Linked DNA regions of Homo sapiens: region 1 is linked to region 2. The links are contacts of gene promoters, found by promoter capture Hi-C in blood cells and fetal thymus (Javierre and others, 2016). All regions are on one chromosome and are shown on one strand. Each heading gives the region's core, a stretch centred on a gene start or on the middle of the fragment in contact. The rest is flanking DNA. Distances are from core to core; before and after follow the strand shown.

Evidence for each region. Contacts are between HindIII fragments. The CHiCAGO score rates a contact against its expected background, and 5 or more counts as called.
Region 1: a contact is called between the fragment with the promoter of NTSR1 here and the fragment with the promoter of MIR1-1HG in region 2, in 2 of 17 cell types (neutrophils and M1 macrophages). The highest score is 7.3, in neutrophils.

The regions. Positions count from the first base shown.
Region 1 is chr20:62,706,874-62,712,588 of GRCh38, reverse strand. NTSR1 (neurotensin receptor 1) reads right to left here and starts at 3,753. Exons shown (of 4, transcript NM_002531.3): 1 at 2,668-3,753. The coding sequence starts at 3,381. RefSeq lists enhancers at 2,462-3,006, 3,007-3,553, 3,763-4,275, 4,276-4,789. The HindIII fragment of the contact is 3,349 bases long and covers 1,586-4,934 here.
Region 2 is chr20:62,545,771-62,552,104 of GRCh38, reverse strand. It overlaps MIR1-1HG (MIR1-1 host gene), which reads right to left and starts at 1,652. Exons shown (of 4, transcript NR_171007.1): 1 at 1,067-1,652. CRMA (cardiomyocyte maturation associated lncRNA) reads left to right here and starts at 544. Exons shown (of 7, transcript NR_033263.1): 1 at 544-679; 2 at 3,644-3,793; 3 at 4,105-4,278; 4 at 4,403-4,557; 5 at 5,247-6,334. RefSeq lists an enhancer at 690-1,565. The HindIII fragment of the contact is 7,236 bases long and covers 1-3,173 here.

The DNA of each region.
Region 1 (5,715 bases), core at 2,504-5,003, 160 kb before region 2:
CCTGAGAGCCCTGCCCACTCCACCATCAACTCCCAGTCCCAGCTACACACTAGGAAAATGCCCAGCTGGCTTCAGGGAGGATTATTGTAAGTTGCTCCAAAGTGTTATCACTGAACCACCTCATTTCTAAACACAATTTCTGTTTGCAAGTGCCCAGGCCAAAATTTCGTAGGAGACGCTGGGGCAGGAAAGGACCCCTGTTTTGGAAAGAGGGGCCATTTGATTGGCCACTGCCCCAACACTTCCAAACATGGTCACTGAGAGGGAGACACTTAGCTCAGGGTATCCAGCCCCTCTTCAGCCAGACATCACCATCTGAAAACCGTGGATGTTTGCCCAGATCTGCCAATGGCCCAGAAGCCCACGTGGGGACCGTAAACCCCCTAATTCCGGGGAAACCTTTCATAAAATGGCAAATGGCGGGGCAGGGGTCAGGGGAAGCCAAGGCCTCTCCTACGAGGAATGTTCTTTTCAAGCACACAGAGCAGCTGGCATCGGGGCCCTGGAAAGCCCCAGGTCATCAGCATCGGATGGAGGAGCACCCTTGTAATCAGCTGCTCCCAGGCACGCAGCTGAGCCCTTTAAAGAAAAATGGAAACTACGTTCTCCAAGGGTGCCTTCAGCAACGCTCGGCCAGCATGGCGTCTGCAGGGCGTGGGGCCGCTGTCCTACGGTTGATACGTCACAGGCCTCTGCGATTGGACGAGTGCCTGTGGCCGGCCGTAGCGTGACTTGGCCAAATCTGCCTCGCAGCCTCTGAGCAACAAGGCTGGGCAGGTGGTGCTTTGGGAGGCAAAGTGATGTCCCCCAGGTGCCCAATCCCAAGTACCTGGCAGAGAGCCCACGCACGCGGGGAGGACACTTTCCGGGGGGCGGAGCCGAGCTGTCCTCACGCCCCTGTGCTTTTCGGCTGTTTGTTTTTGAGGACTGCAGGAGGCTGGTGAGCTCCTGGCCTTTTGCCAGGGGAGCAGGGGGATCGGGGTTCTGAGCGGGGGGATCGGGGATCTGAGCGGGGGGATCGGGGGTCTGAGTGGGGGGATCCGGGGTCTGAGTGGGGGCATCTCCTGGGTGGGCAGTGACAGCGCTGACCCCTCCACTGCCCACCTTCTGAAGGACTGAGTGGCTGTCGCCCCTGGGGCCCCTCCACGCGGACTGGGGAGAGGTTCCCCCTGGCCAATGCCAATCAAAGACAGGAGCTTGGGGAGAGCAGATAAAGCCTCAAAGGGAGGGAGAGGTCATTTCTCACTGTGTTTACCCCACAGGCCGTGCCTACTTCTGCCTCTGGTGAGGGGAGGGACTCTCGCCGCAGAAGCAAAGCAGCCCTGACTCACTGCCTGCCACCAGTGTCTGTGGGAGGGGCCTCCCCGAGATGGGACACCTGTAGCCACCAGTTCTATGTGCAGCCAGGGAGACTGGGAGCTCAGTTCTACCCTCCTCCACCCCCCAGCCCACCTGGGTGGTGGCCAGTGGAGGGTCAGTTAGGGCCCAGGGAGTGACAGACAGGTGACCCCCTGCCCGGCACTGCTGCCCTCACCCCCACCGGGCATACTGGCATACGCGGGGTGCCCAGGCAACTACAGAAGCTTAGCTGGGAGGCTGGCGATGCTGGTGTGTGGGGAGTTGGGGGGACAGCCAGCCACCCTGGCCCCTCTAGCTGGGCAGAGGTAGGCGACTCTGCCCGGATCCTTCACCCTCTGGCTTCCTTAGCCCACCAGAAATGGAGGAAACCCCACACTTCTAAGGCTGCTCATTTCCAAGATGCCTTTCAAAGTTCCCGACCGGCCCTGACTTCCTCCCTGGACACCAGCCTCCTGCTCGGGGCTTTGGTTTGATCAGCCCTCCCCTCCAGCACTGGAACCCCCCGTGCCACGAACCTCAGCCAAACTGATTCCCAAGGGGGCTTCCCACCCGCATTCCCACGGCGCTTTGCTCAGACCCTTGGAGGGCCCTTAGTCACTCGGCTCCAGTTTTACACACCTCACCACAACACCGCCGCCACACGCAGATCCTCACAACCTTCCCCGCAGAAACATCGTCCCCACCATCCCGCAATAATAGTGCCTGTGAGCCCTTCTATGTGTCAGGGGCCATGCAAACACTTCCCACGCGTCCTCTCTCCAATGCTCTACCTTCTGAGGTCAATGCTATCACTACCCCATCACACAGATGGGAAAGCTGAGGCTAAACTAGGAACTGGCCCAACACGGCATCAGGTTCTGTTCTGACTCCCAAGTTTGGGTCAGGGCAGGCAGCTGGGAGGCACCGGCAGAGCCAGTCTGGGGGCTTCTCTGCAGAGGAAGGAACATCACCTGTTGGTGGCACAGTCTTTTGAGAAGCTGATGAAAGTGTTACTCTTCCTTTGGAGACGCAGGTGCCAGCGCACATGTTTCCATTAGGCTTAAGGAATTCAGAGATGTCCGAGGCCCAGCCACCAACACCAGAGAGGTCACAGGCAGGGGCTCCATCCCCTCAACAGGAGGGAAGAAGATAGGGGCTGAGCCTGGCAACTCTGGAGCTGCCCCCAAGCTGCCCCAACCGCCTTCCCAGCCTCGCAGGAGTAGACTGTCTCTGTGACATCTCTCCCACTCCCTACCCAGAAGGCACACCACTGGCACTGCTTTTGGGGTGAAGGAGAGGGGAGCCCCGGGGCTGGTTACTGAGGCTCACCTGTATGACGACCTTGACGGTGGCAGTGTGGATGGTGGGGGTGCACACCAGGCCGCCGGCGTGCTGGCCGTCGGCGCTGCGGTTCTGCTCGCCCATGGTGAACAGCATAGGCACCGCCAGCAGGGCCGAGGCGAGCCAGATGGCGCTGATGAACTTCTTGGTGCGGCTTCGGGACATGAGGGTCTTGGCCTTGAAGGGGTGGCAGATGGCCAGGTAGCGCTCCACACTCAGGCTGGCCACGTTGAGGGCCGTGGCGTAGGTGCAGGCGTCGCGCAGGAAGTAGTAGCCGCGGCAGCCGGCGTCGCCGAAGGCCCAGGGGTGGTGCACCCAGATGAAGTTGTACAGCTCCACGGGCATGGCCAGCAGCAGGGTGAGCAGGTCGGACAGCGCCAGGCTGCCCAGGTGGTAATGCACCGTGCTCTGCAGGCTCTGCAGCGACTTCTTCCGCGCCAGCGTGAACGCCGTCACCGTGTTGCCCACCGTGCCCACCACGAAGAGCGCCAGGTACACGGCGGTCACCAGCACCTTGGAGTAGATGTCGGTGTTCACGTCCAGCTCGCTGCTGGGTGCCGCCAGGACGCGCTCCGACGCGTTGCCCGAAGCGTTGCCGAAGCCCGGGGCCAGCAGCGCCTCCTCCAGTCCGGCCTGCGCCCGCTGGAAGGGGTCGGCGGCCGGCGTGCCCGGGGTTCCCGGCGCGGAGCTGTTGAGGCGCATGGTGGGCGCTGGAGTCCGCGGCTCTGTCCGGCGCCTCCGGGGCTGGAAGTCCGGGCAGGAGTGGGCGCGTCTCAGGCGGGGACCGATGAACGGGAGCCCAGGGGAGGGCGCGTGGCGAAGACCAGCGGGCGCGCCGTCCAGTCGGGAAGCGCCAGACCCAGACGCGCCGCCCCGGGCTCCGGGCTCCGGGCTCCGCTCTCCTCCGGACTCCCAGCTTCCGGCTCCTAGCTCCAGAACCCGTGGTTCCTCGGGCTGTCTCCCGGCTCGGCGCTTGCCACGGGTTCCAGGTGCCTCCGATCTCCAAACCGCGCGGTTCCCCAGGCCCCCGAGGACAGCGCCCAGCCCGGCTCGGGCTGCGCGGGGCGAGCTTGTGGCGCCGGGAGGAGCGCACGCACTGCTGCCCGGGCGCGCTCCCCTCCCTCGCTCAGAATCTCCTCCCTCGCGCTCTCCGCGCACCCCAGCCCCGCACACCTCCCGCCGCGCCCGCGCCCTCCCGGCTCTGCGCGTCTCCACGGAGCCGGCGGCCGCGCGGCGCGCCCAGCAGTGGGGGGTGGCGGCGGAGGAGGGAGGCAGCCCCCGCCGCCATCCCCGCCCCGCCCGGGTGCAGCCTGGCGGGTCGCCCCCTCGCGCTCCCCGGGGCAGGGCGGGCTGGGGTGAGCGCTCCAGGGAACCAGGATTCCGAGCGGGCGCGGCGGGTATCGTGCACCAGACCCTTCCTGCCACCCTCTTCCCTGTTCTCCGCAATTTCTCGCACCGGCTAGGAAGGGAACTATGCACCTCCCCCAACCCTGGGCTCGCTCAGTTGGGGTGAGGGTGTATCCGGAGGGCAGGGAGGGAGGAAGCTCCCCGCTGGCAGGGCTGGGCGGCTGCGCAGCTGGTTGGGCCGACCCCCACTCCTGGGTGTCCACAGGGTGCCAGAAGCTGGGTGCCCAGGGGGCTCTAGGACCACTGGAGATTACATTTCTGGTGATTCCTTTTAAAATCTGGCCGCAGTCATGGGCGTGCCTGGTCTGTGAATGCGTATTTCTGGGATGTGCCCAGTGGAAATGGTGGGGGCTCAGGGCATAGTTATCACCTGGGGCAGGATGGCGTGAGGCAGTACCGAGGGACACCTGCAGGGGCTGAGGAGCTGAGGGGCTGGGTCCTGCAGAGGCCGGGAGCCACAGATGGTTTCATCAAAGTCTGGGGAGGGGTGAATGAGGGAGGGCAGAAAGCAGGTGCCCAGAGCAGCACCCTCCCCACTCAGGGCCCTGCATCTGGCACCCTGGGCTGGTCTCATGACGCTATGGGATGTGATGCCCTGGGCCCCTTATTACTGCCTGGATTTGTCATCAGAAGCCACCCTGAGAGCCTGCGCCCCAGCAGGATTTGGGAGAGGCAGCCCCAGCACGCATCCTCCCAGGCCCTGCAGGCTTTGCACACTCCCTCCCTCTGAGTGTCCTCACAGGGTGCCCCGGCCCCTGGCTCGGGAGCCAGGTGAGGGCAAGATTCCTGTCCTTTCCGTGTCCCCCCCAGCACCTGGTGGCACTGGCATAGGTGGCCAGGCACAAGCTTGCCCCCCCCTCCATGTCTGGGTTGCCCAGGGGCCCCCAGGGCACTACTGTCCCTTCTCTGGGCCCTCCCCGCCCCCTCCCCTGCTCCCTCCTCCCCAGAACCCCTGGGAGAGGTTGGGTAGAGCTGCTGCCCCATGTGTGCAGGGCTGGGAGGAGCTGCTCGAGTGCAGCCCAGGGAACCAGCCTGGCCTTTGTGCACATGGCTGGCTGCACCTGCTGTGCTGGGAGCAGGAAACCTGGGCAGGCTGGGGCGGGGGTCGCAGGGTGTTGAGGGAAGCGGGAGGCTGAGGAACCCCCTCCCGGGCCCGCCCAGCTAGGAGAATTCAAGGCTTCTGAGCCGGTGGCTGGCAGCGGGACTCTGTGATTATTCGTCCGTTCTCGCCCTGCTTTGGACTTCTCTGTTCAACCGGAGCCTGATACTCTTGTCAGGGGGCTGCAGCTCACAAACATCAGAGCTTAGAAATCTTGGCATCAAAGGAAACGCCAGTGATCCCTTTGCTGGAAGCCAGTAGATAGGATTGAATGTTGGCCCTGCTACTTCACATTTGGGCGAGTGTGCTTAGCGTCTCTGTGCCTCGATTGAGTCGTCTGTAAAATGGGAATAGCGGCTGAATGAAGGGCAGGGCTGTTACTGATGGGTCTCCACGGGGAATGAACGAGGTCGAATGGGCTGTCGGGTGTGAGGTGAGGTGTTCCATCCAACTAGAATAGGCTGGAGTAGGCCAGATTTGTCCTCTGGAAGACACGATTCACCAGTTAAGTACACAGGTTTTTTTATTTT
Region 2 (6,334 bases), core at 403-2,902:
CCCAAGACCTCCGCAATAACCGTCCCCGGAGTCCAGGGAAAAGGCCTCCTCAACGTCCCCAGCTCCCTGGCACATGAGCTCTCAGAGCCTGGGACACTCCCGCAGCCTGGCTCAAGCCCCCACGACCTGTGAGGCATTCATCTGGACGGGGTCTGGGGGTCAAGGGGAAAGCTGGGAGTCCCAAAGGGCAGGAGAGTCACCCCAGACCCAGCCAGAGTCCACAGGACTTCTGCCCACTCACAAATGAATTGTAGTCACTTTTCAAAAAGTTTCCCGTCTGCATAGAAAAAGAGCACCCAGCCGCCTCCAAGCAGACCCCACCGTGAGCCGAGCTGGCTCCTGTGCCCGGGGCCTCCTCCGGGGCTCTTCAGCGGTGAATACCGCCCGGCCCCCGGCATCAGCGCCGCGGGAGGCCACGCGGGAAGTCAAGCTCCCCAGCAGGGACCTGCACAGACGCCGACCACCAGGGCTGCTCTCCCCGAAGCCCCCCTAGTCTCCGCCCACATGTGCCCCCCGCCCCCCACCTCGCCGCCCTGCCCCTGTAAACGCCTCCTGACCCTGACGTGGCTGGGAGAGCTGCAGAAGTGCCGAGTCCCGGCCGGGGGCAGCCTCGCCGCCGCTCAGCTCGGGAATCCCTGCCCCCCACCAGCACCTCAGTGGGGGATACTGCAAGTTCAAGGTAAGTTTAGCCCCACGCCCGGCTGCCGGGGCTTTGTTGCGGAGCGGCAGGTGAATCGCGCCCCCAGCCCAGCCCCGAAGCCCCCATGCCATCCACTGCCCGCGTGGGGGGCCGCTGCTTTCTTGCAAAATGCCCGCAAGTCAAAGTTCCTGCCTCCCAGCTGGACGCGCCCTCCAGGCCCTGCCGGCTGCTGGCTCTGCAGTTTTCCAAATGTGGATGATGCCGCGAGCCAAGAGAAAACTCCACGGCACCCCCGCCGGAGCCGCACGGCGCCGGCACCCGCAGCACCCACCTCGCTGGCAGGCACACCCCCCACCGCGGTGCCCGGCAAGTTTGCAGGGGCCGTCCCGGCGGCCCAGCGGTGGTGATGGGCTGAGCAGGACTCACCGCGGAGCCCAGGGCACCCCTGGGGCCGGGCTGGTGACAGCGGCAGCGGCGGCGGGCGCAGGGTCGCGGCTCCCTAGGAGATGCTGCAGCGGCGGCAGCACCAGCCACCTCCTCCGGGAGCCAATCGCGAATGCAGGGGTGGGGGCCGAAGCTCGATGCGTCCGCACTTGGTGGGGGCAGAGAGAGAAAGAAGACACCAGGCACCCCCTCTCCACACCCCTGCCCTTCCCCCAGCCCTCCTGCAGCAGCGCAGACTTAGCAGGAGGGAGATCTTGAGAGAGAGAGAGAGAGAGAGAGAGAGAGAGAGAGAGAGAGAAGGCGCTGGTGCAGAGTTAGGGAGAGGCGGCCGAGCTGCACACCTTGAGCCCCGGCCTCCTCCGAAGGGAACCCCTGCACCCCAGCGGGGTCAGCACAAGGTAGAGAAGGTAGAGGTCAGGGTGGAACAAAAGGGAAGGTCCCGCGGGTGTGCACGCTCTCGCAGGCACACAGCCGGCTCGCGGAGACACAGGGGCGGGGGAGGGGAGGGGAGGGGAGGGGAGGGCCTGACCTGAGAGGCCAGAGCGGGCGTGGGGGCCCCCCTCGGGTCAGGAGCCGGCCTCACCTTTGCAGTTCTTATATACCCGGCCAAGCATCCCAAACACGCGGCCCTGGCCAAGTGGCCCCCTCGGGCTGCGCTCCCTGACCATATTTAGTCAAGCAGGGGAAAAAATAGCCTGTCAGCTGGGCCGCGGCTGGCCCGGCCACCGGGAACAGGGTGGGAGCACCCACGCCATTGACGGCGGGTCCCGGGCTCAGGCTGCTGTCCTGCCCCTCCCGGCCCCTCCCTGACAGGCCTCCCACCGGCTGTCCCTGCCCGAGATCCCCCCGCTATTTTTAGCCCAGCCAGTACAGAGGCGCCTCCTCAGTAGCCGGGCAGCAGCCTCCATGCCATGCCAGCCGGCTCCTAGGGTGCCCTGGGGAGACCCGGGCATCTCCCAGGCTGCAGGGCCGGGGGTGGGGGGGGCGGGCAGAATGGTACGGCCTCCTTCGCTGCTCTGAGCCTCCAGTGGGCTGAGCCCACCCAGGCCACCAGGAGTGGGTGGCCCCCTCCACAGTCCCATCGGCTCTGCCCTTTTGCCTAGAATTGGGGCCAGGATCAGGTGGTGACAGAGCCACCTGGGTTTCCGGAGACTCTCAAGCCAACCCCAAGTCATGACAAATGCCAGTCGCCTTGGACAGAGGCAAGGTCAACCTGCTTGCCGCCCCCAGCCAGGCCCTGCCACCAAGGGTGTGTGATGGGGAGACCCCAATCCCGGGTGCTGGACGGGCTCAGGAGCTCCCCCTTCCGGGATTTCACGCCCGAATTATGTAACAGACGAGGGCCTGGGACGGGGCCTGACGGGGATCTGTCCTTGCAGGGCCTGGACGCAGAGACCAGAGGCCTGAACTGGCAGACTGTCCTCACAGGCTGTGTGACGCTGGCTGGTCGTCCCATCTCTCTGGGGCCCCACAGGACTGGGGACCAGGTCGTGGAATGACAGTGGACCACAGTGGTCCGGGGACCCCGCTCGTTGGTGGCAGGCACAGGCCCGTGTGATGGGGACAATGAGCTTTGGTATTTGTGAGTCCTGTCCAGAGCATAGGTCCTCCTGTTCAGAAGCCACCTCATAAATGTCCCCAGTGCCTCCCGGACTTAGGAAGGCATCCCCTTGTGGTTCTGGCCAGTTAGGGACACAGGGCCGGGGAGTCTATGCCGCTCAGAACAGGCTCAGCTGCATCTAATCCCAGGGGAGCCCCTGAGGAGCCTGCACACCCCCCAGGCTGGCCCACAGGAGCTGAGGCAGGGCTCTCCTCCAGGTTCACCTCCTGGGCTCACGGCCCCTTCCCCACATCCCAAGGCCGGCTCTGCAGAGTCATGGGGAGAAGCCGGAGCCCCAGCCACACTCGCCACACACGCCGACACCCACTCTGGTGTCCTCCGGCCAGCGACAGCGAGGGACAGAGGGACGCCCCCTGCACCTGCCCAGTGCAGAGGCTTCTTGAGTGATGCCAGGCCCTTCTCCCAGCCCTGTACGCCCCGCTAAAGACCCCATGTCTCACCATAAAGGAGGCCAGGAGGTTTTAAGCTTCTACCTGGTCTGAGCACTTTTCTGGAAACTAAATAGCCACTCGGCTTCCCACTGGCAGCGGGAGAGCGTGGTGTGAGGTGTGGTGTCCAAACTCCCCCTGCAAGGCCCCTCCCCTGCAGCCCACTTCCTCCTGCCTGCCGTCTCCAGGCAGGGTTGAGGGGGGCAGGCCAGGCCTGCAGCTGGGGTCAGGGGCATAGACAGCCACAATGGGGGAGGTGGGGAGCAGTCTGCAGGCCTGGGCAGGCGGCTCTGTAAAGGATGCGGGTGCTTTGTGGTGGTGAGAGAGAGGGTATGCAGCAGACGTGGCCATAAATCACCCTCCTCACGGCAGCCCCACACCCACGGACCAGGGCACGGGCACAGGGCCATCTCCTTCCAGGAGAAGGGCTGGTGTGGGTGGCCAGATCTGACAGCCCCCAGGCCGTAGGACAGAGCCAGAAGACAGAGCAGTTCCCCCGTTTACCCATAGCACCAGCCTCACAGTAACAGCCGGCACACAGCACTTAGGCTGCCTGGTGTTCCAGAAGCTTCTGCAGGGGCTCTATGCTGCACTCAAGGCATCCCTAAGAGGAGAGCATTTTGCTGTCCCCACTTTACGGAGAAGGAACGTGGGCTCAGGGTGGGTGCCTCACTCTCCCAAGGTCCCATACCAAGCACTGATCGGAGCTGGGTGTGTTCTGGCCCCCACCATGTCCACGGCTGTCCTCGCCAGGGCAGTAAAGTCAGAGCCCATAGCCCTCGCCCCTGACGGCCCAGGGCCGTGCTGCCCGTGGCCCACTCCACCATGATTTGAAAGGGAGACCGCAGTGGGTAGGAGAGACGGGAGGGAGGGGAGAGGGGAGAGAAGGGGGAGACGGGGTAGAGGGGGCAGAAGGGGAAGAGAGGGGAGAAGGGCCTAGGCCCCCGAGACTTTCCCCTTGGTGTCTGCAGGTGGTTTAAGGCGTGAATGAATGAAGGAGCAAGCAGTAAGCCCCGACAGCAAGGCCACCACAGCCCTCGCCCCACAGGGACGCCTGAGCAAGGACCCAAGCAGGGGACAAGCAGGCTCACCCCGCCCTTGCGGGGCTGACCACGAGGCCCCGTCCGGTGGAACACGCCATGACGGTGAGTGCTCTGCCCTGTCTCACACGGCTCCCACTGGCCACGGTGGCTGCCAAGCTCTCAGAAACGGGGCTGGTGCCCCTGCAGACCTGGATTTTTTAGTCAGTGCAGCTTTGATTTGTTTCAGCTTCAGGAGGCTCATGTAGCTGGCGCCGTATGGGACAGCGGGGGAGAGAGAAAATGCACAGCCCAGGGAATGTGGAGACAGGCCCAGCGCCAGGCATGGGGGCCGGAAGGAGCAGCCGGGGAGCAGGGGGCAGGGCCTGGAGTCCCGCCTTGCAGGTCAGAGGTCAGAGGTCAGGGAAGGCCTGGGTGGGGGTGAATGAACAGGCCCCCCAGTGATGTCAGAGGGGCAGGCGGGGAAGGGTCCCGGAAGAGCACCCCGGGGAGTGTGTACAGGAAGGCAGGAGCCCGGAGGCGGGAAGGGGGGCCTGGTGTGTCCAGCGGGCAGCAGGAGGCCAGCATGGCTGCCACTGGGGCAGTGGCAGTGGATGGGTGGCCTGGGGCTGGGCTTCGGGCAGGGTCAGACCACGTCAGGCCTTGTAGGCCAGTGCCAGGGCTGCAGGTGTCCTGCTGAGGGGCACAGGCCTGGGCAGGCTGGCACGGCTATAGCAGGGTCCTTATGGCTTATCTGCTGAGGGTGAGGGTGGAGGGCAGAGGCTGGAGCATCAGGGGCCCTGCCCAGCTGCGGTGCCCTGGGGAGGGCTGCCCAGCTCTGGCTGTGCCTTGAAAGTTTGCCCGAAAGATTCACTGTTGGAGCAGATGTGGTCACAAGAGCAAGGGGGGATGTCAGATGGCCTGGGCCCTGAGGAACAGAGTGCATCCCTAGGAGGGGGACGGCCCGTCACCAGGGAGCCTTCTGAGACCATTTTGTAGGTGGGGAAACTGAGGCTCAGGAGGAAAAGCCAGTTGCCCAGCACGCGAAGACCCAGAGCCTATCTTCCTGCCCCTACATCCTTGTCTGTCCCCAGATCTGAACCTGCCCCAGCCCCAGGACTCTGAGTGCAGCAAGAGGGGAGCCGGGCTGGAGAGTGGGGAGCACGGAGACTGTGGCCTGGATGGTGCCAGAGCAAACAGGAGAGAGGCTGCCCAACGCAGAGGCTGCAGCACAGACCAGAGGGTCCCGGGGCTGACTGGGTGGGGGCAGCTCCCAGCGAGAGGCCCCTGGGATTTGGGTAAGTAGAGGCACATGCAGACTCTGGCCACAGGGCACCTCGCGCACGAGGGGAGTTCACCACACAAGCTGAGCGGAGGGCGGACGCAGGAGAGCAGCGGTTTCTCGGAAGCCAAGGGCGGTCATGGAGCCCCACGCCACAGCGCTTCCCACGGGGCCACACCATCCGGTCTGCGGAGGGGGCTGCATTGCCGGGAAGGACCATCTGATTCTGGATTCCAGCCTCACCCTGGGCCACCGCTGAGTGTCCCAAGTGGCCCCTTAGCCCCCAGGGCCAGGCGGCATCCCAATCCCCTAGGGATGTCTGTGCTCAGAATGTGGCACACACGCCCCGGCAGGGCCATCCTCCTCCTCCTGCACCCGCCACAGCCGTGGATTCGGGGTCTCTATCGTGGGCAGAAATTCACACAGTCAAGGTGAGGGTCCCAGGAGCAGCTGTGACCAGGCCCCGGCTGCCAGGGAGAGGGGGTCTTCAGCCGACGGGGCAGACACCCTGAGATGGACCCTTGTCCAGGGGAGGGCCCTGCCACCCACAATTCCTTGGCATTCCTGCACCAGCAGGACGGGCTGAGGGAGGCGCCTCACCAGTGCCAGCGCCCAGCATCACTGTGCCCCGGTGGAGGGGGAGGCCCTTCCGAGCCTGGGCCTGGGTGTGGATGAGGGCAGGTCTCTCACCTCTCTGACCTCAGCTTCCTCAACTGGGAAGGGGGGCCACAGCACCCCCTTAGGGGTGATGAGGAAGTGGGAGCTCAGGGAGGACCCCGGGCAGGGCTGCCTCCTCACCTCTCTTCGGCCTTTGGACACTGGAGCTCAGAGGACCAAGTGAATGAATGAATGACTCGATCAATCAACTGATCCATGAATCCATGGACCCCTGAACAGCTG